7 separate regions of the Homo sapiens genome follow, and regions 2, 3, 4, 5, 6 and 7 are each linked to region 1. The links are contacts of gene promoters, found by promoter capture Hi-C in blood cells and fetal thymus (Javierre and others, 2016). All regions are on one chromosome and are shown on one strand. The core of a region is centred on a gene start or on the middle of the fragment in contact, and the rest is flanking DNA. Distances in the headings are between cores, read along the strand shown.

Evidence for each region. Contacts are between HindIII fragments. The CHiCAGO score rates a contact against its expected background, and 5 or more counts as called.
Region 2: a contact is called between a fragment that was not itself captured here and the fragment with the promoter of ANAPC10 in region 1, in 2 of 17 cell types (total CD8 T cells and total CD4 T cells). The highest score is 5.7, in total CD8 T cells.
Region 3: a fragment that was not itself captured here is called in contact with the fragment with the promoter of ANAPC10 in region 1 in 6 of 17 cell types (total CD4 T cells, non-activated CD4 T cells, naive CD4 T cells and 3 more); the score reaches 13.6 in total CD4 T cells.
Region 4: a fragment that was not itself captured here is called in contact with the fragment with the promoter of ANAPC10 in region 1 in 12 of 17 cell types (total CD4 T cells, naive CD4 T cells, naive CD8 T cells and 9 more); the score reaches 18.5 in total CD4 T cells.
Region 5: a contact is called between a fragment that was not itself captured here and the fragment with the promoter of ANAPC10 in region 1, in 7 of 17 cell types (total CD8 T cells, naive CD4 T cells, naive CD8 T cells and 4 more). The highest score is 19.8, in total CD8 T cells.
Region 6: a fragment that was not itself captured here is called in contact with the fragment with the promoter of ANAPC10 in region 1 in 3 of 17 cell types (total CD4 T cells, total CD8 T cells and naive CD8 T cells); the score reaches 12.2 in total CD4 T cells.
Region 7: a contact is called between a fragment that was not itself captured here and the fragment with the promoter of ANAPC10 in region 1, in 1 of 17 cell types (naive CD8 T cells). The highest score is 5.7, in naive CD8 T cells.

What each region holds. Positions count from the first base shown.
Region 1 is chr4:145,096,079-145,099,760 of GRCh38, forward strand. It overlaps ANAPC10 (anaphase promoting complex subunit 10), which reads right to left and starts at 2,118. Exons shown (of 5, transcript NM_001256706.2): 1 at 2,042-2,118; 2 at 1-33. The coding sequence starts at 21. ABCE1 (ATP binding cassette subfamily E member 1) reads left to right here and starts at 2,233. Exons shown (of 18, transcript NM_002940.3): 1 at 2,233-2,341. RefSeq lists enhancers at 1,373-2,244, 1,492-2,691, 1,825-1,874, 1,955-2,214, 2,245-3,116 and 1 more. The HindIII fragment of the contact is 4,584 bases long and covers 1-3,169 here.
Region 2 is chr4:143,192,674-143,196,355 of GRCh38, forward strand. USP38 (ubiquitin specific peptidase 38) reads left to right here. Exons shown (of 10, transcript NM_032557.6): 3 at 3,043-3,172. Among named protein-coding and RNA genes, the nearest start is that of USP38, 9.6 kb to the left of the region's middle. The HindIII fragment of the contact is 3,520 bases long and covers 206-3,682 here.
Region 3 is chr4:143,504,566-143,508,247 of GRCh38, forward strand. No RefSeq gene overlaps it. Among named protein-coding and RNA genes, the nearest start is that of SMARCA5, 7.3 kb to the right of the region's middle. The HindIII fragment of the contact is 4,096 bases long and covers 1-3,682 here.
Region 4 is chr4:143,533,999-143,537,680 of GRCh38, forward strand. SMARCA5 (SNF2 related chromatin remodeling ATPase 5) reads left to right here. Exons shown (of 24, transcript NM_003601.4): 10 at 857-966; 11 at 2,454-2,680. Among named protein-coding and RNA genes, the nearest start is that of SMARCA5-AS1, 21 kb to the left of the region's middle. The HindIII fragment of the contact is 9,461 bases long and covers 1-3,682 here.
Region 5 is chr4:143,550,311-143,553,992 of GRCh38, forward strand. It overlaps SMARCA5 (SNF2 related chromatin remodeling ATPase 5), which reads left to right. Exons shown (of 24, transcript NM_003601.4): 24 at 2,809-3,682. The coding sequence ends at 2,874. Among named protein-coding and RNA genes, the nearest start is that of SMARCA5-AS1, 37 kb to the left of the region's middle. The HindIII fragment of the contact is 1,246 bases long and covers 1,089-2,334 here.
Region 6 is chr4:143,566,157-143,569,838 of GRCh38, forward strand. No RefSeq gene overlaps it. Among named protein-coding and RNA genes, the nearest start is that of SMARCA5-AS1, 53 kb to the left of the region's middle. The HindIII fragment of the contact is 152 bases long and covers 2,033-2,184 here.
Region 7 is chr4:146,187,312-146,190,993 of GRCh38, forward strand. It overlaps LSM6 (LSM6 homolog, U6 small nuclear RNA and mRNA degradation associated), which reads left to right. Exons shown (of 4, transcript NM_007080.3): 3 at 1-76; 4 at 2,311-3,682. The coding sequence ends at 2,345. Among named protein-coding and RNA genes, the nearest start is that of LSM6, 13 kb to the left of the region's middle. The HindIII fragment of the contact is 5,853 bases long and covers 1-3,682 here.

The DNA.
Region 1 (3,682 bases), core at 868-3,367:
TGTCTTGTTTGGTGTAGTCATTTTTAAAATATTCTATGTAGAAAACAAGAATGCACACATTGTATCAGGAACTGGGCATCTTTCTACAAAAGTTTTTTACCAAGAAAAATTTAATGGAACTCATATACCCTGACATTAATCATTTATTCTGAAGAATGCAGTTAATATAATTAAATCACTGTAATTTAAATCTTAGGGGCTGGGCATGGTGGCTCACACCTGTAATCCCAACACTTTGGGAGGCTGAGACAGGAGGATCATGTGAGCCCAGGAGTTCAAGACCAGCCTGGACAACATGGCAAGACCCCATCTCTATTTTTAAATAAATAAAAATCTTAGGAATTCAGGTTTTGTTTCATATGACCAGATATGCAAAGCAGTGAGCTATAGTAGTCAAAAGAGCACAGAATCAAAGTTTTGGCTTCAGTATCTCCTTTAATCAGCCTAGACTTTGAGTAGGTCTGGGCTTTATTTCCTCTCCTGTTAAAGAGGTTCACTTGATGATTTTTACTTCTACAATGCTATGCAGTTCTATAATTCTGTGCCTGAAAATTCAAATGACTTTTAGCCCTAGAAAAGTCAGACTGAAATACTTTTATTCTAGGAATATATAAATATTGATCCTCATTTTATTTACTTAATTCCTTTTTTTTTAGAGACAGGATCTAGCTATGTTACCCAGGCTGGTCTTGAACACCTTGCTTCAAGCGATCCTCCCACCTCAGCCTCCCAAGTAGCTGGGATTACAGGTGTGATCCCATCACCCCACTAAGATCCTCATTTTAAATATTCATTGAGTGATGCAGAGAACAGTCATACCTGCCCTCTAGCTGTCAAAAGTTTTATTTAAGACCCAGCCCGGTGGCTCACACCTGTAATCCCAGCAGTTTGGGAGGCCAAGGCAGGTGGATTGCTTGAGCCCAGGAGTTCGAGACCAGCCTGGAATATGGTGAAACCCTGTCTCTAAAAAAATTCCAAAAAATCAGCCTGGTGTGGCGGCACACACCTGTAGTCCCAGGGGGGCTGAGACAGGAGGATCACCTGAACTGGGAGGCGGAGGTTGCAGTGAGCCGAGATCGTGCTACTGCACTCCAGCCTGCGTAACAGAGCAAGACACTGTCCCAAAAAGCACAAAAATAAGAAAAAAATGTTAAAAGTTCACTTACATATGCTCTTACCATAGAAGATAAGGTCAGGAAAATGGCTTCAAGATTTTGAAGTGAATAACTGGCCCATTCTAAAAAGGTTGACCTCATCTTTCACATCTTTTGTTAATTTTACTAAGTCTATTCATATGTGAAAAAACACTTCAATACTGGATCGTGAACAATATGTAAAACTGCTTTGGTAGCGCAGTTACTGCTACTGAACATTGTTATATATGCTATTCAAAATAGGTGCAATAGTTCTGCATACCGTTTCCTTGACACCTCCCATTGTATCCGAAGTTGTTCTTTAATCGGCACACAAGCACTTGATACTTACTAAATAACGGCAGACACAACGGACTGTAAACTTTGGCAAGGCCTGAGGCTTAAACGCTCAATAAGTAATTTACTGAATGAATAAACAGATGAATAGGTTCAGTTATGAACTAGTTGTCACTTGCCTGCAAGTTAGGTGAGATCTAGGGCGAGACTATTCAACCTGCAACCATCATTACTAACTGAATGTCCTGTTACCTAAAAAAAGATAGAAATAAAGCCCATCTTTAGGGCAGAATTCAACTGCCGGACTTGGGACTGGACGCCACCAAGTGGATAAAATATGGAGCTCGGAAAAGATTGGATTCCCGGCCCTGAACTGACCACACAGTTGAGAGGAAGTTGAGGCCTAGAAGAGCGCGCAACAGTAAGCCGTGTCGGCACCAGACTCTGTTGGTCCTACTGACACCTCCAGCGTTAGAATGACTAAGGCTCCACTCCTGACCCACCGGCCTTGAGGAAAGCGCAAACGTAAAAAAAGATTGAAACCGGAGAGGCGAATGCATCTGTTTACGCTAGGACCACGCTCGACGTCGGAGAAAAGCCCACACACTCACAGTTTCCAGACCTGGCTGCTTGCCGAAACTCAGATTCTCGGCACCTCCAGCAGCTGGCTTCGCCAACGGCGTTGAACAAGGGTCGCAGCTCAATGACGTCATATCTCCCTACCTACCTCCAGGGTTCCGCCTCACGCTCTATGTCGCGCGCGCGCACTACGTCCTATGGCTTGCGCGTGCGGCGGCTGGGCACCGCCATTTTGGCCGGTGGCCGTGAGAACACGCTGTGTGGCTGAAAAGTGAAGGCAAGAGCTGATTTGGCCTCTGTGCTCCCCTCCGCAAGGGGATCGTTTTCTCCAGGTACGTGAATAGCCCGGAGAGGTTTGGCCGTTAGCTGCCATCTGCCAGGTTGGAAAGAATGTAGGGACGTTCTCCGAGAGCCTTTGGTTAGGCCTTAGGTGGCGGAGACAGCAGCAGCGCGTGGCAGCGGTTCCTGCGGGACAGCTGGAACTGATGGAGCGCGGGCGACGCCGAGAGCTTGGGGGCGCCTCGGTCTTCCCCTCCAGCCGACCCGGCTGTCGCCGCTGTTGCCTGCCACACCCGCGAGGGACTTCGAGAATGGACCTAGATGCCGTAGTCTCCACTCCCCCTTTACCCCACTCCCGCCCTGAAGCTAAACCTGCTGGAGAGGAAGGCACCTTTAGAACTTACAGCACTCTCTAGTACCCCCACACTCCTCCAGCACCCAAAATGGATATATTGTCACATGTGCATATTTGGTTGTGGGAAGTCGTGGCTTCCACGTTTTGTTGAGTGGAATGAGTCATGGCATCTTGCCGCCATGAAGTCGAATACTCGCTGTCCACTCCCAGGCTTTATAGAAATGATGCCCACATGTCACTCTGCTTTTCTCAGAACAGCGTGTACGCAGCTATGACTGGGGTTGTCCCAAGTAGTTTCCCAGTAGAAATCCTATAGTTTTTTTGGTACGCTTTTGTAGCACTAGGCACTTTCTCCCCTTACCCGTTTTTCCTTTTATTGTATCTAATACTCATTGAGATCAAGGTTGATGTCTTTACTCAGAATACCTTTATTATCTCTTCAGGGCTTCGTACATTGTAGGCATTTAATACGTATTGTGAATGAATGACAGCCAAAGCCGAATTCCCACCTCCCATTAACTACATAAGCTTATTTTCTCTTTTTTGATGGTAAAAATCTATAAGAGGAAGAACTGTCCAAATAACATGTTTTATTTTTTTACTCTTTCCCAACAGGACTGCTAACTAGTCATTTATGATAGTGGCATTTATGTTGCAGTAGTTTGTCCCATATTCTGAGAATATTCATTGTATACCAGCCACCTGACACTAATACTTTGTTAGTGTAACCAAAGGCTCAGAACCTGTATTTGAACCAAAAGCTGTTTGGGGTTTGTGAGCTTTTTGAGAACTTAGTTCTCCCCTATTTTAAAAAAGGGAGTTTTTTTGTTTGTTTGTTTGTTGGAAGAGCATCTAACAATTGGGAGAGAGGGGGAGAAAACAATATTAAGTTAGAGTTCTTCTAAATGTCTTAAACTTAAAACTCTTTGAAATCAGAGCCGTGTACCACTCCTAACTTCTACGTGTTTTGTAAGACTAATAAACTACAATAAGCATGGGTTAGACTATTTCATGTGATACTAAACATCATTAGTTAACA
Region 2 (3,682 bases), core at 716-3,215, 1.9 Mb before region 1:
TCAGCCTCTAATCCCACTCACTAGTCACCTGACAAAGGCCCCACCTCTTAATGCCAACACACTGGGGATTAGATTTTAACATACGAATTTTGGAGGGACACAAACATTCAGACCACAGCACCTTCTGATTTGTGTAACATCTGATATGAAGTTTATTTATAGGTGGTCAGGAGATTGGCATACATGAAATAAGGTAAAGAATGGAAGCTTTTGAGATGGAAAGGCAGAAATGGAAAGGATGAGAAAAAGGCTGACTGAGTAATGAAGGATAATGAAAAGCCATGGCCAAGTGGAATTTTCTACTCTCTGCTCTCGTCCTCTCTCAGTACTCTCTTTAGACTGGCCTTGAGACCTGTATTCTGGTGAGCCCTGTCTGGTTCTGCTCTGACAGTGTGACTTCCCATGATGCAAAGAATCCACAGAGCCAAGATGTGCTCACACATACCCTGCCTTTAGATTACATCTTTTTTATGTCCATATTTACATATATATTCACATGATTTTCTTTTAAACTAAAATTGTTTTTTAAAAAAACTGCAGTGGTTTTTTTTTTCCTTGTTAATTCAACAATTTCTCAGCTCTTTCCATTTTAGATTCCTCATGGATAGATTCATGTACATCTATCTTATTATTTAAAACTCTATATACTGTTGCATAGTATCAGTACCATAGTAGCCATTTCCTTATTGACAATCATTTAGGTTGTTTGCAGTTCTTCTATACCATAAACAGTGCTACAGTGAATACCCTCTGTACACATATGCAAGTGTGTCTCTGCTTTGCTACTCTGTATAAGTAGAATGGCCACAAAATTTTATGAGAATCACCCCAACAATAGTTGGAAGACGTGGAATAGCTGTCAAGGACTATGTTAATCACTTGTAACCATCATTGTTGGAAAAGGCCAGAAAAACAAGAATGGAAATAAAGTTTGTGTAGAGAATGGAGGGAACATACACATAACTTGTAGTTAACATGCATTTGGACTTTGGGACCACTCTTAATATCCGAATGGACATTTTAATTTTAAAAGCAAAAACCTTAATAAAAAACATTCCAGTGTTAATGTAGATAGTTATATAACACAACTGTTGTGAAAATAACCATATAAATGAAGATGTCAGTCCTTTGGCCAGGCACAGTGCCTCACACCTGTAATCCTAACACTTTAGGAGGCCGAGGTGGGCAAATCACTTGAGGCCAGGATTTCAAGACCAGCTCAGGCAACCCCCTTGGTGAAACCCCATCTCAGAAAATACAGAAATTAGCCAGTTGTGGTGATGCACAGCTGTGTAGTCCTAGCTACTCAGATGGCTGAGGAGAGAGGGTCGCTTGAGCCTAGGAGGCGAACTTTGCAGTGACCTGAAGTAATGCTGCTGCACTCCGGTCTGGGTGACAGAGCGAGACTGTGTCTCAAAAAGAAAAAAGATGTCAGTCCTTTTAACATAGTAGTTGTTGTTTTAGTAATGTATTTATGTCCTTAGTGTTTATATTTACATTTTGTATAATCAAGGTATTTATTTATTGCCACATGTATTAACATTTGGTGGAAGAGAGGCATTCACAATGTTTCCAGTGTTATAGATTAATTCATTTAATCTTCACAACAGTGCTATAAAATAAGCATGTTTATCTGTAATTTACAGGTGAGGAAACAGAGAGGTTAAATAATCTATGTAGGTATTTAGGGTCCCCTAGCTAATAAATGGTGAATTGAGCTTTTTAAACCAGTCACTCTGGCTTCAAAAACTCATTTTTCCCCTTTCTATTTTCTTAGTATATAATCCCAAAAATAGGACTACTAGGTCAAATTATATGAACATTTGCTTCAGTTGCTTTCTTTTTTTTTTTGGAGACGGAGTCTCGCTCTGTTGTCCAGGCTGGAGTGCAGTGGCGTGATCTCGGCTCACTGCAACCTCCGCCTCCCAGGTTCAAGCCATTCTCCTGCCTCAGCCTCCCGAGTAGCTGGGATTACAGGCACGTGCCGCCATGCCTGGCTAATTTTTGTATTTTTAGTGGAGATGGGGTTTCACCCTGTTGGCCAGGCTGGTCTCGAACTTCTGACCTCTGGTGATCCAGCCGCCTTGGCTTCCCAGAGTGCTGAGATTACAGGCGTGAGCCACTGCATCTGACTTTCAGCTGCTTTCTGAAAGAGTTGTATCAATCTTCATTGTGGTAGAGATCTAACTTTAGGGAGTGTCTCTGTCCAATCCTATATTACTTTTTTTTTTTTTTTCACTAAATTGGGTAATTTAATGAGTTTTCTTTCAAGAAAAGCACTCATTAGTGCAAAATGAAGCCATTACAATATTTACAGACTTAGTGCTTTTTTATATATTTGAAGTTTCTTTTTGTTCTCTTTGTATAGTCGGATTTGAAAAAGATACCTCTTTCACAGTTCAAAATACAGTCTTTTTAAACAGTACATTTCATATTAGACTGTACTCACCAGGAAGGAGGAATCTTGGATCATATTCATATGTCTTAGTTCAGATTACATTTCAGCTGCTCTTTTTAGAGTAAATTTGCCTAATAAATTCTTGATACAGGTTGAGCATCCCAAATTTGAAATGTTTGAAAATCCAGTACTTTTTGAGTGCTGACATGATGCTCAAAGGAAATGCTCATTGGGACATTTCAGATTTCAAATTTTTGGATTTGAAATGCCCAGCCAGTAAATATGTAATGCAAATAATTGAAAATCCAAAGCACTTCTGGTTCCAGACATTTCAAATAAGGAATACTCAACCTGTGCCACTATATAGCATAAATTTTAAGTTTTGCGTTTATGCAAAATAATTTATCAGAAATTCTTTTTATGGAAATATGTTGGATATGAGAAACTGTCAGTTTACAAGATTGGAAATTCCATGAGAACAAGCACCTGTTACATTCACTTCTACATCTTGGTCAGTGCTTTTCACCAGCAAATTCAGTAAATGTTTATTCACAAAGTGAGTGATTATCTACTGTAACTCTTGTTATCACTAACTAAATGAAAATATTTTCAATAATGATTGTTTCATTTTCCTTCAATTTCAGAATGATTGACTGGCTATCCTGGCCATTGGCTCAGCATGTGGATACATGGGTAATTGCACTCCTGAAAGGACTGGCAGCTGTCCAGAAGTTTACTATTTTGATAGATGTTACTTTGCTGAAAATAGAACTGGTAAGTGGGAGTATGGAAATCTATTAGAATATATAGACTCATAAAATCAATATTTTTTTCTTTGGGTGGTATCCTTGAAAGCATCTAATTTTGAATATGTTATTGTTGTTTTGTTTTGAATAACAGTTTGAATAGGCTTTAGAAATTTTTTTAAATGTCATTTAAATATAAGTAATTAGGTTGGGCATGGTTGCTCACAACTGTAATCCCAGCACTTTGGGAGGCTGAGGCGGGCAGATCACTTGAGGCCAGGAGTTCAAGACCAGCCTGGCCAACATGGCAAAACTCCGTCTCTACTAAAAATACAAAAATTAGGTTGGCATAATGGTTCATGCCTGTAGTCCCAGCTGCTCAGGAGGCTGAGGCACGAGAATGACTTGAATCTGAGAGGCAGAGGTTGCAGTGAGCCAAGATAGCACCACTGCACTCCAGCCTGGATGACAGAGCAAGACTGCGTCTCAAAAAAAAGTATAAGTAATTAAAATAATTTTTTCATTTTCAAATATCCAA
Region 3 (3,682 bases), core at 566-3,065, 1.6 Mb before region 1:
TCTGACCAGTGACAGAGTTACAGGGCTTCCTCCTTACATGCGTTCTGGAGCACTTACCATTCAGAGAAGATTAAGTTCAACACCAGGTACTTTGAGATGAATCAGAAACTAAAAAAAGTTTCTTTGAATTTATAAGATACTAAGTCCATACCATCTTTCATAATGAGTTATTATAGAATAATAATTATATACCTACAAGTGTTAAGAATCAAATTTTCAAAAGGCCAAAATTAATCTCCAGCTCTCAAAAAAACATACTTCAAATACATTTTAACTGAATAACTCAATTTCAAGTGCAACTGGGCTTAGAATTGGCAACTTGGATAAAAATTGAACCATGAATGAAAATTAAAAGGATCATAATGCTTGAATGGGAACATTAATAGATTTTTCTATCAAAGATAGTTTACTTTTCTGCAACATAAATAGACCATAAACATATGCTAGAGATTCCAGTCAATTCTTTGCACTAATTTACTCTTCTTTCTAAGAGAGCCTCCATTCTCGGTTGCTGCTCAAGAGGTGGCCTAGGTAGCCATGTTTATATCTAGTGGCCTGATCCCTATTCATACCTAACGAATCTGGGATTGGCACCTGACCTAAACTGAACTGATCTGTCTCTGGACCTTGAGATTTGTAATTGAAACACTGGTTGTTATCTATGAGGTACTATAATGCACAGCCAGTTGGAGTTGGAACAGACTAAACACAATGCACTTACTTAGAAGCAGAGAAACCAAGAGAAAGCAAAGAAAGCTATTCTGGAGAGATGCAGAATGACAAAAATATATGCTGCAGTGGTTACCAGCTTGCATATGGGTTGAATTTCAGTTCTTTTACTTAGTGTAAAATAAAGACAAATTAACTAGTAGGTTACTTACAAGTCCAAATGAGAATTATTTACAATAAAACTAAAACAATAGCACATAGGGGAAAACATGGGCTTAAATAGAAAATCATGAACTGTCTTGACTCCAGAAGACAGACTTTTGGGTTTTCTGACTCTATGTGAGCTATTTTACAACTCTGTAAATTGTAAATAACTTATACAAGTGCAAAATAATTCTCGTCTGTACATACGCAAGTGTTGTCCTATGCATTAGAAGGTAAACTGACTTCCTTCCCCTAGTGTGGAAGAAGATAATTTTACCTCCACTTCCACATTAATTTCAACTTTTCTTTACCCAATATAAATTTGTTTTTCCATTTTTAATCTTTAAACTGTTGTTAACACCTCACTAACTTCCGTATTAGTGAGTTAAATAAAATCTTTAACAAGTGTTCTTTTTTATGTATGTATGAGAATCATGCTTTTACTTTTTTAAAAAATTTCTTTTAACAGTTTTGGGAGTTTTCCACAAACATGTCCACTGGATTCACTTAACAAGACCAGGTGTATTAGTCTGTTTTCACACTGCTATAAAGAAATACCGGAGACTGGGTAATTTATAAAGGAAAGGTTTAATTGACTCACAGTTCTGAATGGCTGGAGAGGCCTCATGAAACTTACAATCATGGTGGAACAGGAAAAGGCACATCTTACATGGCAGCAGGTGAGAGAGAGAGGAGCGAAGGGGAAAGAGCCCCTTATAAAAACCATCAGGTCTTGTGAGAACTCACTTGCTATCACAAGAACAGCATGGGGGAACTGCCCCCATGTGCCAGTCACCTCCCACCAGGTCTCTCCCTAGACATGAAGGGATTATGGGGATTACAATTCAAGAGCAGATTTGGGTGGGGATACAGCCAAACCATATCACCAGGTAAACTGTCACCAGAGAAGTGCATCTCATGGGTAGTTTAAGCCCAGCATGTCTTGGCTTCCAGAAGTAAATCCAAAGCAGCAATATAAATTTGCTGATGATGTTTTTCTATTTTTAGTTTTCTTCTCTACTAATTTTATGGGTTTTTTTTGTTCTTTTGCAGCTGATAAGTTATTTCCCATTAGTGGCAGCAATAACTGGCAATTTGATTTTTATGATCTGACCATTTGATTTCTGTAGAAGAATTTGTGGCTAATAAAGATCTATTCTCTGCTGAGTGAGAGACAACAAAGTGTTGGATTTGTTAGTCTTTTGGTTTGTCAATTTATCTATTTAGGGCTTAAATCAATTAAGAATTTCCTGTCTATCAGGAAGAACAGCTCTTTAGTATCTGAACTGGAAAGTTATTTTGATATTGTATTTACTCTTGACCAATGGCTGAAATTTTAGAATTAAAACTCTAAGTGCTATCTATCTCTGTCTATATACGTGTCTATAATTCAGAAAAAATTTTACTTTCCTTTTGTGAGTGCGTAATGTTTTCCATCTCAGGATGTAATCAATAAGTTCAATTACAAACTCTTAAAGGGGCCTGTTCTGATTGACTAATAAAGATACTTACATGGATTGAGTATTCCAAAAATTCCCAGAAAATAATAAACTTCTAATAATTTAAACGTGCTAAAATCTAAAAGAAAAGTATTCTTACTGAAACTAACAAGTAGAGAAGCCATGTTCACAAAGTGTAGGTGAATCTTTGGCAAACAAGACTAATTTAATATTTTTGTTTTAATAAAATCATCTATGTCTTATCTAATTTATCAATATTAAGTATAATAAAATCCTATAATAATTTTAGTTGGGAATGTTTTTCCTAAATTTATACTGATTTATTGATCAAATAAACTAGCATTACTTCCACTTTATGGTTAAAGATTATGAAAAATATAAATTTGTATTTGGCCAAATTGGTTCATTATTCTGATTTTCAACAAAAGTTTTATGTCAGTTTGAAGAGAATTTCAGTGATCTCTATTTTTCCTTTTCAGCACTGTGTTGAATATGAATGTTATAAGCAGAAAACCTTCCCTGTTTCAGATCTTAGAGGGAGAGGATTCAATCTCACTAAGTATAATGTTTGCTGTAGGTATTTTGCTGATGCTCTGTATTAAGAGGAGGAAGTTCCACTCTATTTGTTTTCTCTTTTTTTTTTTTTTTCTGAGAGTTTTGTTCTAAATGGGTGTTGGAATTTTGTCAAATGCTTTTTCCTCATCAGTCAATATAATCATGTGAGTTTTCTTCTCTAGCCTGTTGATATGGCAGACAACATTGACTAATACTCAAATATTGAATCAGTGTTGAATATCTGGAATAAATCACATTTGATCAGGGTGCATAATTCTTTTTACACATTGTTTAATTGTATCTGATAATATTTTGTTAAGGATTTGTCTGTATTCATCAGTGATACTGGTCTGTCATTTTCTTTCTTATGTAGTGTCTGTCTGATTTGGTATTAGAGATAAAGCACCTTCATAAAATGAATTACAAAGTGTATCATCCTCTTCTATTATCTGCAGGAGATAGTATGGAATTGGTATTAATTCATCTTTAAATATTTGGTAGAATTTTTCATTGAAACCATCTGTGCCTGAAGATTTCTTCTTTGGGAGTTTTTAATTTATCAATTTAATTTCCTAAATAGTTACAGTGCTATTCATATGATCTTTTTATACTGTTTAAGTGGCTTGAATTTTTCAAGGAAGTGGTTTTAAGTTGTCAAATTTATGTGTGTCGTACTCCTTACTACCCTTTTGATGTTTTCAAGGTCTACAATGATAGGTCCTGTTTTATTCCTGATATTAGTGATTTGAGCTTTGTTTCTTCCTTCCTTCTTACCCTCTCTTTTTTTCCTTTCT
Region 4 (3,682 bases), core at 621-3,120, 1.6 Mb before region 1:
TGGTTTGTGGCAACCCTGTGTCAAGGAAGTCTATCAATAAACACCGTTTTCCCAACGGCATGTGTTTACTCTGTTTTTAAAGCAGTAATGTATTGCTTTAAATAATGTATCACATTTTTAAAGCAATAATGTACTTTTAAAATAAGGTGTGTACGTTGTTTTTTTTTTAGACATAATGCTATTGCACACTTAATAGTGTAAATGTAACTCTTAGATGCACTGGGAAATGTGACTTGCTTTATTGAGGTAGTCTGGAACTGAGCCTACAATATCTCTGAGGTATGCCTTTATTGAATAAGTAATGGTCTTGTATTACTACCCTTCAGGAACCCAGTAGTAATAAATTATATACAGTTAGCCCTTCATATCCATAGGTTCCACATCCATAGATTCAATCAACTATGGATTGGAAATATTTGTCCCCAAAAAAGATAAAAATAAAATAGATGGTTCCATCTGTGTTAAATATACCGACCTTTTCCTTGTCATTATTCCCTAAACGGTATAGTGTAACAACTATTAACATAGCATTTACATTCCATTAACTATTATTATAAGTAATCTAGAGATGATTTAAAGTATATGGGAGGATGTTTGTAGGTTATATGCAAATACTACATTTTTTATAATGGACTCGAGCATTTGTGGATTTTGGTATTCAAAGGGAAGGGGACAGGAACTAGTCTCCCACAGATACTGAGATATGACTGTATTTGCAGGGAGAAGTCCTAAGAAATCACTTGATACTCACGCAGAGAAATTTCTTTTTCATGTATTTTATATACAATTCTAAGATGCTGAAATATGACCTTATGTGTAATATTGGTATTACCTGTTTATTTTTGTCCTTTTTAAGGTTTTGCGTCCATTCCTCCTTCGTCGAATTAAGGCTGATGTTGAAAAGAGTTTGCCTCCAAAGAAGGAAGTAAAAATCTATGTGGGCCTCAGCAAAATGCAAAGGGAATGGTATGTATTCTCAGATGTACTTGATAGCACTATTGATTCTTCCCTAAATTTCATGTGTATTTTGTTTTCCTAATTTGTGTCTTCATGGAATTCCAATTTGCTGGATTGAACTCAACCTGAAAAGAGTTTTCTTGTCACGTAGTATAGGACTTGCTCATTAAGTTCGTTATAGAAAGTTTTGAACCTGTTAGATGACAGAATCAGGATGGAAGGCTTATGAATCCAAAATTAAAATTGGGATTTAATTAAACGGGGTTCATATGAAACCATCTACTTGGGATTTTTAAAAAGGAAACTGTGATAGCACAGTGTGGGAGATATATGGTTCACTTATAGTTCATAAATACTGGGTCAGTGTAAAGTAGCTGCAGAAAAAGATACTGTTGGCCTTAATGTAAATGTAGTGTTCAAAGGAGAGGAAATAAATATAGCTACCCTTTTCTTTACTGGTCTCATCATATTTCATGTATATTTAACTGCATACTTAAATTTTGATAAGTATTTGCAAGAGGCCAGAGTTGTTTGGTTAAAGGACTTAATATCATATAGAGAACTGGGCATGTTATCTGGGTAAGAGGTTATCTGTAGAAGGTGGTTGGTCCTAAATGTCCTCAAAAACTTCTGAAAGGGTAGCAGATATTAGGCTTACCTTGGATGGCTCTAAAACAGAACTAAGATGAGTCAATGCTAAGGAAAGACAAATCTTTTTTAGTTAAACATTTGAGTGAACTTTATATCAGAATTGAGATGGAAAGGTCTGCCTTGTTGTTTAAGCATAGATTGCCTAGGCTACTTACTTTGTTCAAAGGATCCAAGGCTCTAAAACTTTGATGCTTAGACAAATTACTCATTCTTTCATAACAATGTCTACATCCTTAGTATATGTTCAAGGCTTTTTATAATCTGGCCTTAGCTTATGGCTGTAGCTTCACAGTCCTGCCTCACAGACATACCTCCCTCCCCCATGTATTTATACGTATGTTTAAGTCACGTTGTATTCATATTATTCTCATCATCATGCCTTACCATTTCATTATTCTTCCTGTCTTCTCAGATGTTAGGGTTCTTACCTAAATGCTACACTAGCTATGGGGTATATAGTAATCGAATAGTGGCACTTTCTGTTGCAAAAAAACTGCAAACTAAAATTATGTTTAAAACTTACATTTTTTAAGTTTTGCTTTATTACTTAAAAATATTATGTCTTACTGCTGTAATTCTACCCAAGGGAACTGTTTTTGTACTTTAAAAATAATATCCTCAAGGCCCAAGGCGTAAGTATGAACATTATAATGCTATGGACAGTAAAGAAAAATGGAAGCAAAAAGAGGTTACAGATGTTAAATTCCTAACCATACCTAGAAGTTGATGAGTAGTTTCTTACAGATATTTGGGGGTTCATGTGGGGAAGGGGATTAAGTATGTAAAGTGGCAGGGATTGATCAAGGAACATTTGAGCTCTAAAAATGTTTTTCTTCTTTGAATAGGTATACTCGGATATTAATGAAGGATATAGATATACTCAACTCAGCAGGCAAGATGGACAAAATGAGGTTATTGAACATCCTAATGCAGTTGAGAAAATGTTGTAATCATCCATATCTCTTTGATGGAGCAGAACCTGGTCCACCTTATACAACAGATATGCATCTAGTAACCAACAGTGGCAAAATGGTGGTTTTAGACAAGCTGCTCCCTAAGTTAAAAGAACAAGGTATCGGTTACCCGTATCAAATTATCAAAACTGTTTTAAAATGCTCATGTTAAAACAAAGGAGCACTGTACTTTGAAATGACTGCTCTGATGCTTTCCAAGGTTGACGTGTAGAACATTAAAAAAACCTGTTCATTATCTGAGCTCTAACCCCCACTCCTGATTTTAGGCCTTAAGTCTCTTAGAAGGTAAGCAATAGTTAGAGCAACCATACTCCCTTGATTTTGGGAAGAGTTCATACTTTATATATACTTTCCTAGAAATTATAGCTTTCTGTCATAAAATGTGAAGAATGCATCTCCCTCCCACACATGGTTACCAGATCCATTGTTAGACAGTGGTGGTGTGTTCATGATATTGTTTTTTAATTATTTATGTGGAGTTTTAATTTAATAAGGTACCATGTACATGGACCTGAAACATTTTTATTTGTAGTATGCTGACTTTTTTTATGAAAATGGGTATGTCTGTGTTGTGTGTTTGGGTATATTTAAATTACACGAATGCAGAAAGAACTTAGAAGCCAGCTTCTGATTTTAACTAATAAAAACGTTTTTAGTCTGCTATACCCTTCCTCCTCCCAGATTATTCGAAGCAAACGCCAGACACTATAGCCTTTCATAAATTATTACATATCTCTTAAAGATACGAAATATCACTGCTATAGTATTAAGTGTGCAGATTCAAGTTTGTGTTTCTCTCTATATTTTAATAAGAATGACATTTGGACCAGTAGGTGAATCTCCTCTATGATACTATCAAAAGCATGTTGTAAGAGTTGTCAGTGAATGGGTTTACTTTTTCCTTTTCATACCTTTTTGTAGAGATAGATTTTTAAAAAATGCTTTCCTTGAAAGCAAAGTAATTAAAGGAGTTAAATTGGTGGGGAGGAGTGGCAGGAACGTGGTGGGAATACTCAGATATTAATGAAAGGTATATTAAACTCTGCAGGGAAAATGGAGACTATTAAGTAGTCTCATGTCCCAGCACTTTTTGGAAGGCT
Region 5 (3,682 bases), core at 462-2,961, 1.5 Mb before region 1:
ATTTTTAATTTTTAGTTGTTATGAGTAAGTATGTATTTATAGGTTACATGAGATACTTTGATACAGGCATGCAATAAGTAATAAGGACATCAGGGTAAATGGGGTATTTATCACCTCCAGCATTTATCCCTGTTACAAACAGTTTAACTCTTAGTTATTTTAAAATGTATAATTAAATTATTTATTGCGGTAGTCACTGTGTTGGGCTATCAAATACTGGGTCTTAGTCTCTCTTTGTATTTATTTGTATCCATTAGCCAGCCCCACTTTCCCCCACCCCCACTGCCTTTCTCAGCCTCTGGTATCCATCCTTCTCTCTGTCTCCATGAGTTTAATTGTAGTTTTTAGCTCCCACAAATAAGTGAGAACATGCCAAGTTTGTCTTTCTGTGTCTGGCTTATTTCACTTAATAAACTCCAGTTCCATCCATGTTGCTGCAAATTACAGGGTCTCATTGCTTATGGTTGAATAGTATTCTATTGTGTATACATACCATGTTTTCTTTATCCATTTATCTGTTGATGGACACTTAGGTTGCTTCCAAATCATGGCTACTGTGAATAGTGCTGCAGTAAACATGGGAGTGCACATATCTCTTTGATATACTGACTTTCTTTTGGGTGTAAACCTAGGAGTAGGGTAACTCTTATCTGTAGTTTTTTGAGGAACCTTCAAACTGCTTCCACAGTGATTGTACTAATTTGCGTTCCCACCAAAAGTGTATGAGGGTTTCCTTTTCTCCACATTCTTGTCAGGATTTGTTATTGCCTGACTTTTGGATAAAAGCCATTTTATCTGGGATGAGATGTTATCTCATTGTAGTTTTGATTGCATTTCTCTGATGATCAGTGATACTGAACAGCTTTTAATATGCTTGTTTGCCATTTGTATGTCTTCCTTTGAGAATCATCTGTTCAGATCTTTTGCCTATTTTTAAATCGGACTGTTAGGATTTTTTTCAGTAGAGTTGTTTGAGCTCTTACATATTCTGGTTATTTATTAATCCTTTGACAAATGGGTAGTTTGCAAATATTTTCTTCCATTCTGTGGGATGTCTCTTCACTTTGCTGTTTCCTCTGCTGTGCAGAAGCTTTTTAACTTAATGTGATCCCATTTGTCCATTTTTGCTTTGGTTGCCTGTGGGGTATTATTCAAGAAATCTTTGCCCAGTCCAGTGTTCTGGAGAGTTTTCCCAATGTTTTCTTGTAGTTTCACAGTTTGAGGACTTAAAGTCTTTAATACATTTTGATTTGATTTTTTTATATAGTTAGGGATACAGGTCAAGTTTCATTCTTCTGTGTATGGATATCCAATTTTCCCATTACCATTTATTGAAGAGACTGTCCTTTCTCCAGTGTATGTTCTTGGTAGCTTTGTCAAAAATGAGTTCCATGTAGATGTATGGACTTTACGGACTTATCTCTGGGTTCTCTGTTCTTTTCCACTGTTGCACTGATCTATGTATCTGTTTCTATACCAGCACCATGCTGTTTTGGTTACTATAGCTCGGTACTATAAGTTAAGTCAGGTAATGTGATTCTTCCAGTTTTATTCTTTTTGCTTAGGGTGGCTTTGGCTATTTCTGGGTGTTCTGTGGGTCCATATAAATTTTAGTATTTTTTTTTCTATTTCAGTGAAGAATGTCATGGGTATTTTGATAAGGATTGCATTGAATCTGTGGATTGCTTTGGGTAGTATGGACATTTTAACAATATTGAATTTGCTAATCCATGAACATGGAATATCTATTTTTTTGTGTCTTCAGTTTCTTACATCAGTGTTTTATAGTTTATCTTAGAGATCTTTCGCTTCTTTGATTAATTCCTGGGTATTTTATTTCACGTGTAATTACTGTAAATGGGATTACTTTTTATTTTTCACATTCTTCACTGTTGGCATAGAAATGCTACTGTTTGTTGTATGTTGATTTTGTATCCTGCAGTGTCACTGAATTTGTTTATGAGTTCTAATAGTTTTTTGATGGAGTCTTTAGGTTTTTCCAAATGTAAGATTATGTCATTTACAAATAGGGCAATTTGACTTCTTTGTTTCCGATTTAGATGTCCTTTCTTTCTTTCTCTCGTCTGATTGCTGTAGCTAGGACTTCCTTGAAATACTTAAAAAGTACAAATTTAGCTTGACTGGGTTGTGTGGGAAAAATCACTTCTTGATGATATGGTAGTCCTTAATATGGGGCTTCGTGAAAATCAGGAAAGTATGTCTCGTAAATGTCAAGTGTGTACACATCTCATTGAGAATACAAGTTATAATTTTAGAATAATTTAAGAAACATTGGAAAAGCAGTGGTATTATGACTTTTACTGTTAGTCTCTAAGCTTTGATTATTTCAGTGATGTTTTAGCAATGTGAAGGCAAACACTTAAAGGGAAAAAATGTTATTTAATAATAGTTAATTTAATAAAAAATGGTTAATTTATAAAGTCATGAATAAATGAGTATCTCTGGATAATATTTGGTACTTATGTAACTGCCTTTTAAAAACTCAAGTGTTTCTTACTATTTTGGGAAGCTTGCATTTATTTGATATTGATCTACTACTGTTAATTGTGCATTAGTTTTATAACGTCATTATTAACATTAACATTTTTTATTCTGTAAGTAAAATAAGTAGGTAAGATTATTTGGAGGCTTTATAGTTTGCTTTGAAAGATTTATATAGCCTGGGGGAAAAGTCTCATACCTATTACTTTGTAGTAGTTGTTATTACTAAAGTGTTATAATGTGTCTGCAACTATATTTCATGTTTATATTAGTCTTGTGAAAAGTAATCCTTCTGTCTGTTTGTAGACACAGAAACGTAAAATGGATGGCGCACCTGATGGTCGAGGAAGAAAAAAGAAGCTGAAACTATGAATATGTTTTTGTTTCATAATCACTAACTTTAAACCAGTAGTTCTTTAATTTACGGGTCTTCATAAGATGTACTGTACAATGCTCAATTGTTATGTCATTTAAAGACATCAGGTTCATCTGTTTACTGAGCTAGAAACATAGTATGTAGTTTCACTTTTTTAAATGCAACAGCTGTGCTGAAATTTTTTTATCATTAACACTTGAAGTAATAAAATAGGCTTCATTTATTACTAAGTGTTTCATTTGATTTATTTTTCTATTGTAGTTCCATTTGTGAAGATTGTGACTTTTTGTTTATTAGCTATAATTTCTACACTTGTAAGGCTTAAAAACAAGTTAAAAAGAAAATTGCAAATAACATTTGTCCCTTTCAGTCTTCACCTAGTTGTGTAATTATTTTAATTCACTTTGCCTTTGCAGAAATTTGGGTATTTTCTTTGTAGTGCTATTGAGTCTCATCTGGAAAGATTATATAAATTGCATTCTCCTTGCTTATGTGGGTAGAATGGGAAAAGAAGGCAAGACAAAGTATACTTAAATTCTATGCATATTTCTGTTATGCTTTCTGTTTTTTTTAGTTGATTCTGAAATGAATATGCCCTATTCTTTTGAAAGAATGGCCTTTTAGTTGTATAGCCAAAGACATTTAGTATTTTCCGGTTCCTTAAGGTATTACTGTACCATTTTGTAAAAGGAATATTATTATTATTATTTTTAATTATTTGGTAAATATTTTGTCATATGACCTTCTGAAGCAGCCACAACTTAGATAATGTCAGAACTAAGGTGATTTTTTTTTTTTAATTTT
Region 6 (3,682 bases), core at 859-3,358, 1.5 Mb before region 1:
ACGGGGTTTCACTGTGTTAGCCAGGATGGTCTCGATCTCCTGACCTCGTGATCCGCCTGCCTTGGCCTCCCAAAGTGCTGGGATTACAGGCGTGAGACACCACAGCTGGCCAGATTTAAGTTCTTGATCAATCTTGAGTTAATTTTTGCATAAGGTGAGAGATAAGGATCCAGTTTCATTCTCCTACTTGTGGCTTGCTAATTATCCTAGCACCATTTGTTGAATAGGGTGTCCTTTCCCCACTTTATGTTTTTGTTTGCTTTGTCGAAGATCAGTTGGCTGTAAGTATTTGGCTTTATTTCTGGGTTCTCTATTCCATTCCACTGGTCTATGAGCCTATTTTTATACCACTACCATGCTGTTTTGGTAACTATAGCCTTGTACTATAGTTTGAAATCAGGTAATGTGATACCTCCAGATCTGTTCTTTTTGCTTAGTCTTGCTTTGGCTATGTGGGCTCTTTTTTGGTTCCATATGAATTTTAGGATTGTTTTTTGTAGTTCTGTGAAGAATGATGATGGTATTTCTATGGGAATTGCATTGAATTTGTAAATTGCTTTCGGCAGTATGGTTATTTTCACAATATTGATTCTTCAAATCCATGAGCATGGAATGTGTTTCCATTTGTTTGTATCATCCACAATTTCTTTTAGCAGTGTTTTGTAGTTTTTCCTCGTAGAGATCTTTCATCTCCTTGGTAGGTATATTCCTAAGTATTTTATTTTATTTTTTTTGTGGCTGTTGTAAAGGGGGTTGAGTTCTTGATTTGATTCTCAGCTTGGTCATTGTTGGTGTATAGCAGTGGTACTGATTTGTGTGTATTGATTTTCTATCCTGAAACTTTACTGAATTCATTGATCAGATCTAGGAGGTTTCTGCATGAGTCTTTAGGATTTTTTAAGTATATGATCATATCATTGGTGAACAGTGACAGCTTGACTTCCTCTTTACCAATTTGGATGCCCTTTATTTATTTCTCTTGTCTGATTCCTCTGGCTAGACTTACAGTACTATGTTGAATAGAAATGGTGAAAGTAGGCATCTTTGTCTTGTTCCAGTTCTCAGGCGGAATGATTTCAACTTTTCCCCTTTCAGTATAATGTTGGCTATGGGTTTATAATAGATGGCTTTTATTACCTTGAGCTATGTCCCTTTCATGCCGATTTTGCTGAGGGTTTTGATCATAAAGGGATGCTGGGTTTTGTCAAATGCTTTTTCTGCATCTGTTGAGATGATCACATAATTTTTGTTTTTAATTCTCATAACTTGTTTTTGATCTTACAGGCTTATAGATGGAAGGAACTTTCCTTGAGTCTCAGATTGGACCTTTTGGACCTTTTTTTTTTTTTTTTTTTTTTTCTTTTGAGTTAAGGGTCTCACTTGGTCACCCAGGCTGGAGTGCAGTGGCATGATCTCAGCTCATTGAAGCCTCTGCCTCCCAGGTTCAAGTGATTCTCTTGCCTCAGCCTCTCAAGTAGCTGCAATTACAGGTGTGTGCCACCACACCTCACTAATTTTTATATTTTTAGTAGAGACAGATTTCACCATGTTGCCCAGGCTGGTCTCGAACTCCTGACCTCAAGTGATCTGCCCACCTTGGCTTCTCAAAGTGCTGGAATTACAGGTGTGAGCCACCATGCTCAGTCTCAGATTGGACTTTTGAGCTGATGCTTGGAATGAGTTAAAATTTTGGGGGACTATTGGGAAGGGATGATTCTTTTTTGCAGTGTGAGAAGATCATTAGATTTGGGAGGGAAGGGGTAGAATGATATAGTTTGGGTATTTGTTCCCTCCAAATCTCATGTTTAAATTTGGTCCCCAGTGCTGAAGGCAGGGCTTGGCTGGAGGTGTCTGGGTTGTGAGGTGGATACCTCAAGAATGGCTTGGTGCATTTCTTACAGAATGAATGAGTTCTTGTTCTGTTTGTTCACAGGAGAACTTGTTGTTTAAAAGAGTGTGGCACCTTCATCCCCCTTTTTCCTTTCTTGCCATGTGACACACCAGCTCCCCTTCACCTTCTGCCATGATTGAAAGCTTCCTGAAGCCTCACCAGAAACAGATGCTGGTGCCATGCTTCCTGTACAGCCTGCAGAATTGTGAGCCAAATAAACTTTTCTTTATAAATTACCCAGCCTCAGGTGTTCCTTTATAGCAACACAAATGGACTAAGACAGCAGTTTTCAAAGCTTTACACATTTGGCTGTATGTCTTTTTTCTCTTCTACAGCTGTCTAACCTGCTTCTTATTTGCCCCAAAGGAGGATATAGGGAAACTTTGGGCTCATGTTAATGCTCATAGGTAGATGTCAGCAGTGATACTTCTGGATCAGGTGAGGCTATCCATTTGACTTTTACACTTGAGCCCATCAGACAGCTTTACTACTGTATTAGTCCATTCTCATGCTACTAATGAAGACATACCTGAGACCGGGTAATTTATGAAGGAAGGGGTTTAATGGACTCACGGTTCCACATGTCTGGGAAGGCCTGACAATCATGGCGGAAGGCTAATGAGGAGCAAATTCATGTCTTACATGGCAACAGGCAAGAGAATTTGTGCAAGGGAACTCCCGTTTATAAAACCACCAGATCTTGTAAGACTTATTCACTACCATGAGAATAGTTGGGGGAAACTGCCCCCATGATTTAATTATCTCCACCTGGCCCCATCCTTGACACATGAGGATTATTACAATTCATGGTGAGATGTTGGTAAGGACACAGCCAAACCGTATCATTCCACCCGTGGCCCCTCCCAAATCTCATGTCCTCACATTTCAAAACCAATCATGCCTTACCAACAATCCCCCAAAGTCTTAACTGACTTCAGCATTAACTCAAAAGTCCACAGTCCAAAGTAATCGCCCTTGAAACATGGGGATTACTACAATTCAAGGTGAGATTTGAGTGGGAACACAGCCAATCCATATCAACTACCAACATTAAATCACTTTAAAAAAGGTGCCAAGAAATCTGATACTTTGCTTTACATTTAAAAGAAGAGGATAAGAAGTCTAAAAAGGCTTTAGGAAAAATCTTTCAAATCACCCTCCATTATTAGGTGGAGTAAGCACTGGGCTAGCTAGCAGTCAGGAGAATAGAGTCATAGTCTCAGCCATATCACAGCCAATGTGATGCTGGGAAAAATAATTTGCTGAAATGGAACAGGAGCTCATCTTTTTTTTTTTTTTTTTTTGAGACAGGGTCTCATCCAGGCTGCCTGGAGTACAATGGCACAATCATAGCTCACTGCAGTCTTGAACTCCCAGGCTCAAGAAATACTCTTGCTTTAGCCTCCCAAGTAGCCAGGACCACAGGTGTGCACCACCACACTCAGCTAATTTTTAAATTTTTTTTGTAGAGATAGGGTTTTGCTTTATAGCCCTGGCTGTTATTGAACTACTGGCTTCAAACTATCCTTCTCCCTTGGCTTCCCAAGGTGCTGGGATTACAAGTGTGATTCACAACACTCAGCTAGGATCTCATCATTTTAAAGCACTTTTGCTTGTACATTTCAGTTGAATCAACTCAAGCCTCAGTTTCCTCAGGTTCCATGATTCTTTGTATAACTCTGTACTTATCAGCTATAAGTATAAGCACATCAACAAATCACAGGTACTTCAATTCATGCTTTTATGGCAAGATGTGGAAGAAATGTAAAATTAGGAGTCAGGTGATGTGGG
Region 7 (3,682 bases), core at 540-3,039, 1.1 Mb after region 1:
CTGGAGCAGACAGAAGAATATGTAAATGGACAACTGAAGAATAAGTATGGGGATGCATTTATCCGAGGAAACAATGGTAACATTTCTTCGCCCTACAGTACAGCATTCAAAATAAGCCTTTCTATTTATAATCCAGATCACCAAAGAGGTTTCTAGATAATTTAAAAGTCCACTTTTAGGCTTGATTATTTTAAAATGCTTATATGTCAGATCTTCAGTTTGACCAGTTATTTTGTAGATGCTTCATGGAATTTTGAAACCAAAATTCTCTCCTTCCCTTCCTTTAGTGATGAGGAACTGAGGGACATTGTTCTCCTTACCTGGAACCCTGCTTTCTCGAATATAGTGTAGTATATCTCCCCAACACATATTCCTGCTTCTTGTAGCCTGGAAGTTGGAGATGTAAGAATGGGCACCGTTTCCCTGCTGTCTTTGATTTGCATAATTTGGCAGTTCGTCCTATTTGTCCCTTCTCTATTAAACATTCAGATGCTTTCTATGCAGATTTGCATCCTTCAGTTTGGCAAAAATGGCAAAATAGAAAAAGTTACTCAGTTTTTAACAACTAATAAATTGCTATGATTTTTATAGTTATTTTTAAGTACCTAGTTTAAAAATGAAAATTATAATAAAGTCATATTTGTATTTTTGGTGGGGAGGGAAAGATATCAGAATTATGAGAATTACCCCACTTTTTGGTTCCATCTCCCAGAAACTCTGGGATTCTTGAGTTCAGATTTTTTGTTGATTTCTTTAATTCTGGATGTCTTCAACCCCCTAAATAGTTGGATCTCTTTGCTATAAACTAAACTTCCTGACTTTTATAATAAGAGTCTGTCCCCTATGCTTACAGGACCTTATTTCTTCATATCATATTTTTACATACATTATTTCCTGGCTTTCTAGTCCTTTCTATTTATAGAATTATTTATCCTATTTTTCATATCCTTATTTGACCTCCTCTTTTTCCTAAGAAATGTTATGATCTTGTCTCACCTCAAGACAGCTAATGGCAGCAGTCACTGGCAGGTTGGGTTCTGTGCGTGTTGATAGGGTAGATCCTTTAACGTGCACACTACCCCTAGGACTTGGGGGGCAGGGTTGGGGGGCGGCTGTACTGGCATTCTGATGCTTCCCTTCATGTCACATTTCCCATGATGTAATCAGTGACACTCATCTTTAGACTCCCAAGTTCACATCATTGGCTCTTAAAGAGGATCTTGACTTATTTGATTCATCTGTGCTATGTTCTTTGATGAAGACACCTTACTGTTCGCTTTGAGCAGACCTCTCAGAAGCCGAGTAGGCATGGAAGGTGGAAGGGAGAACCACCTCTAGTTTGGCCAAAGTGACCCAAGCATTTCATTTTGTTTCATTCCTACGGACCACACATCCTACGAGTTCATGTTGGTAGTCATGAGAAGACCACTAAGCAGAACATTAGGTAACACCAAAGTATGAGACTTTTAACGGGAACTCAGAATAAGGACTTTGGTATCATTAAAAAATAAAAATAAAAAATAAACTCCTTAGCTCTTGTTTATCCTGTTGCATTTAAGAAGGTAAACAGCAAGTTTAGAGTTTGTATTGGGGAGACAGATGAAAATATGTTGTTTATTCTTAATTTGAGATCTAGCCTGGTTAGATTTACTGATTTACTTTCTGAAAAGCATCTTTTTTTTTTTTTTTTTTTCCTGAGATGAAGTCTCGCTCTGTGGCCCAGGCTGGAGTGTAGTTGTGCAATCTCAGCTCACTGCAGCCTCTGCCTCCCAAGCTCAAGCAGTCCTCCCACCTCAGCGTTCTAAGTCGCTGGGACTACAAGTGCATATACCACCATGCCTGGTTAATTTTTTGTATTTTTGGTAGAAACGGGGTTTCACCATGTTGCCCAGGCTGGTCTCAAACTTCTGAGCTCAAGTGATCCACCCGCTTCAGCCTCCCAAAGTGCTAAGATTGCAGGCGTGAGCCACCGTGTTCAGCCCTGAAAAGCATAATTCTTATACTTCTAACTATAAAGCATTCTTAGATACCAGGGACTTTCACATATATTTTATTTTATCTTCCTGGTCACACTTTAAAGAGTCAGTGAGACACATGGATGAAATTAGGACAGTTTTGTAAGACATCAAACCTGGGTGTAGATTCATAAAACTAGTCTTACAGTACTTCTAGAGTTAATTGAATGATACGAGAATTCCTTTTAAATGTCAGATGTATCAGACCAAAATCTGTTGGCTTTTAAACTTGCTACTATGTATACTTACAAGCAGGGTTTTTTAAATTTCAATTTATGTATTTTTTTCTTTTCAGTGTTGTACATCAGTACACAGAAGAGACGGATGTGAAGACACCAAGAGAGCAACGCTTTTCATAGTTGGATATATTTTTTTATGAATTTTTTCTAATTTTTGCTTCTTTTGTGATACAATTTGTCCTCTTTTTATAATAGTTGGTGATTTTTCACTGACATGTGAGTAAGATAAATGTATACAATTGTGGATTTAATTGTGAAATGTTCTTTCACTTGTAAGTTTCAGTCATTTTCTTTTACCTCGTTGTCAGTGTACAGAATGCTAAAATAATTAAAAAAAGACAAAATATACCTCTTCCTACAAGATTATTTAACTTAAGTTTCGAGAAGTGTCATTTCATTTGACTTGCTTTTCTTATCCAGCTAAAATGATGCATATATTTTATATATTGTATGGACATATAATTAAAACATTTTGGAGGAATCCTCCTTTATTGCATCCTTTTCTGTTCATACAGAATCCTTGCGTGAATATGTTCTACAAAGGCATCCAGTTTCAGTCTGAAGCTACAAAAAGGGGCCACAGGATCAGAAGTTCAGCCACTGATTGAGTCACCTAAATAAAAAACAGAATTGGAAAGCCAAGAGTGCCACTTGCACATAAGGAGTGGGAATTCGAACTGAGGTGCTGGAGAAATCCTAAAGATGAACAAGATTTCAGTGAGGAGAAAGCCCTCCTGTCAGTGGTCCCCCTGCATCTCCTTATGCAATTAGACTTTTTAGGTTTCCCTGCTCCCTTTCAGGAGCATTGGCATCAACGTTATTCTCTCAGTTTATGAACACAGTAGGGGAGGGGCCATTCCTGTACATCTCTCACAGTCAGATTAAAGCAAAGCCTAGAGTTTGTAAACATAATTCAGGTTCTAATTGCCGAGCTGAGATTGGGAAAGAATTTTTCCTAACTCTGGTCTAGCAAGTGGCTGTAGGGAGGCCTTTCTCAAAAATCAGCTGTATTTGCCTTTGACATTGTCCAGGAGCAGAGCACCAGGCTTTATGTTGCTTGGCACAAGGCAGCTCCTCTGGTTATGTGACTCCTGCTGAGAGGATTTTCACAATTTATTAATGAGCTTTCCACAACCCTGCTTTATTCTCCAAACAGTTTTACGCTGTCTCTAGGAACAACAAATATATCTGGGCACTGTGGTTGAATGAATACCAGACAATTGTGTGAATGTTGTATTGGACTTCCTCTTCCCTCCCTTCCCAATCTAAATAGCATTCCTATTTCAGGAGCCGATGGTGTGATTCGAAACAACTGCTTGGTTGAAGGATGGGGGGCAGGATCGAGAAGGAGAGAGGGAAGGGGCAGTGCTGATTCTGGAGAGGTGTATGTAGTGTTTTGTCTTGGTTTATTTTAAAGATCAGAGAGTA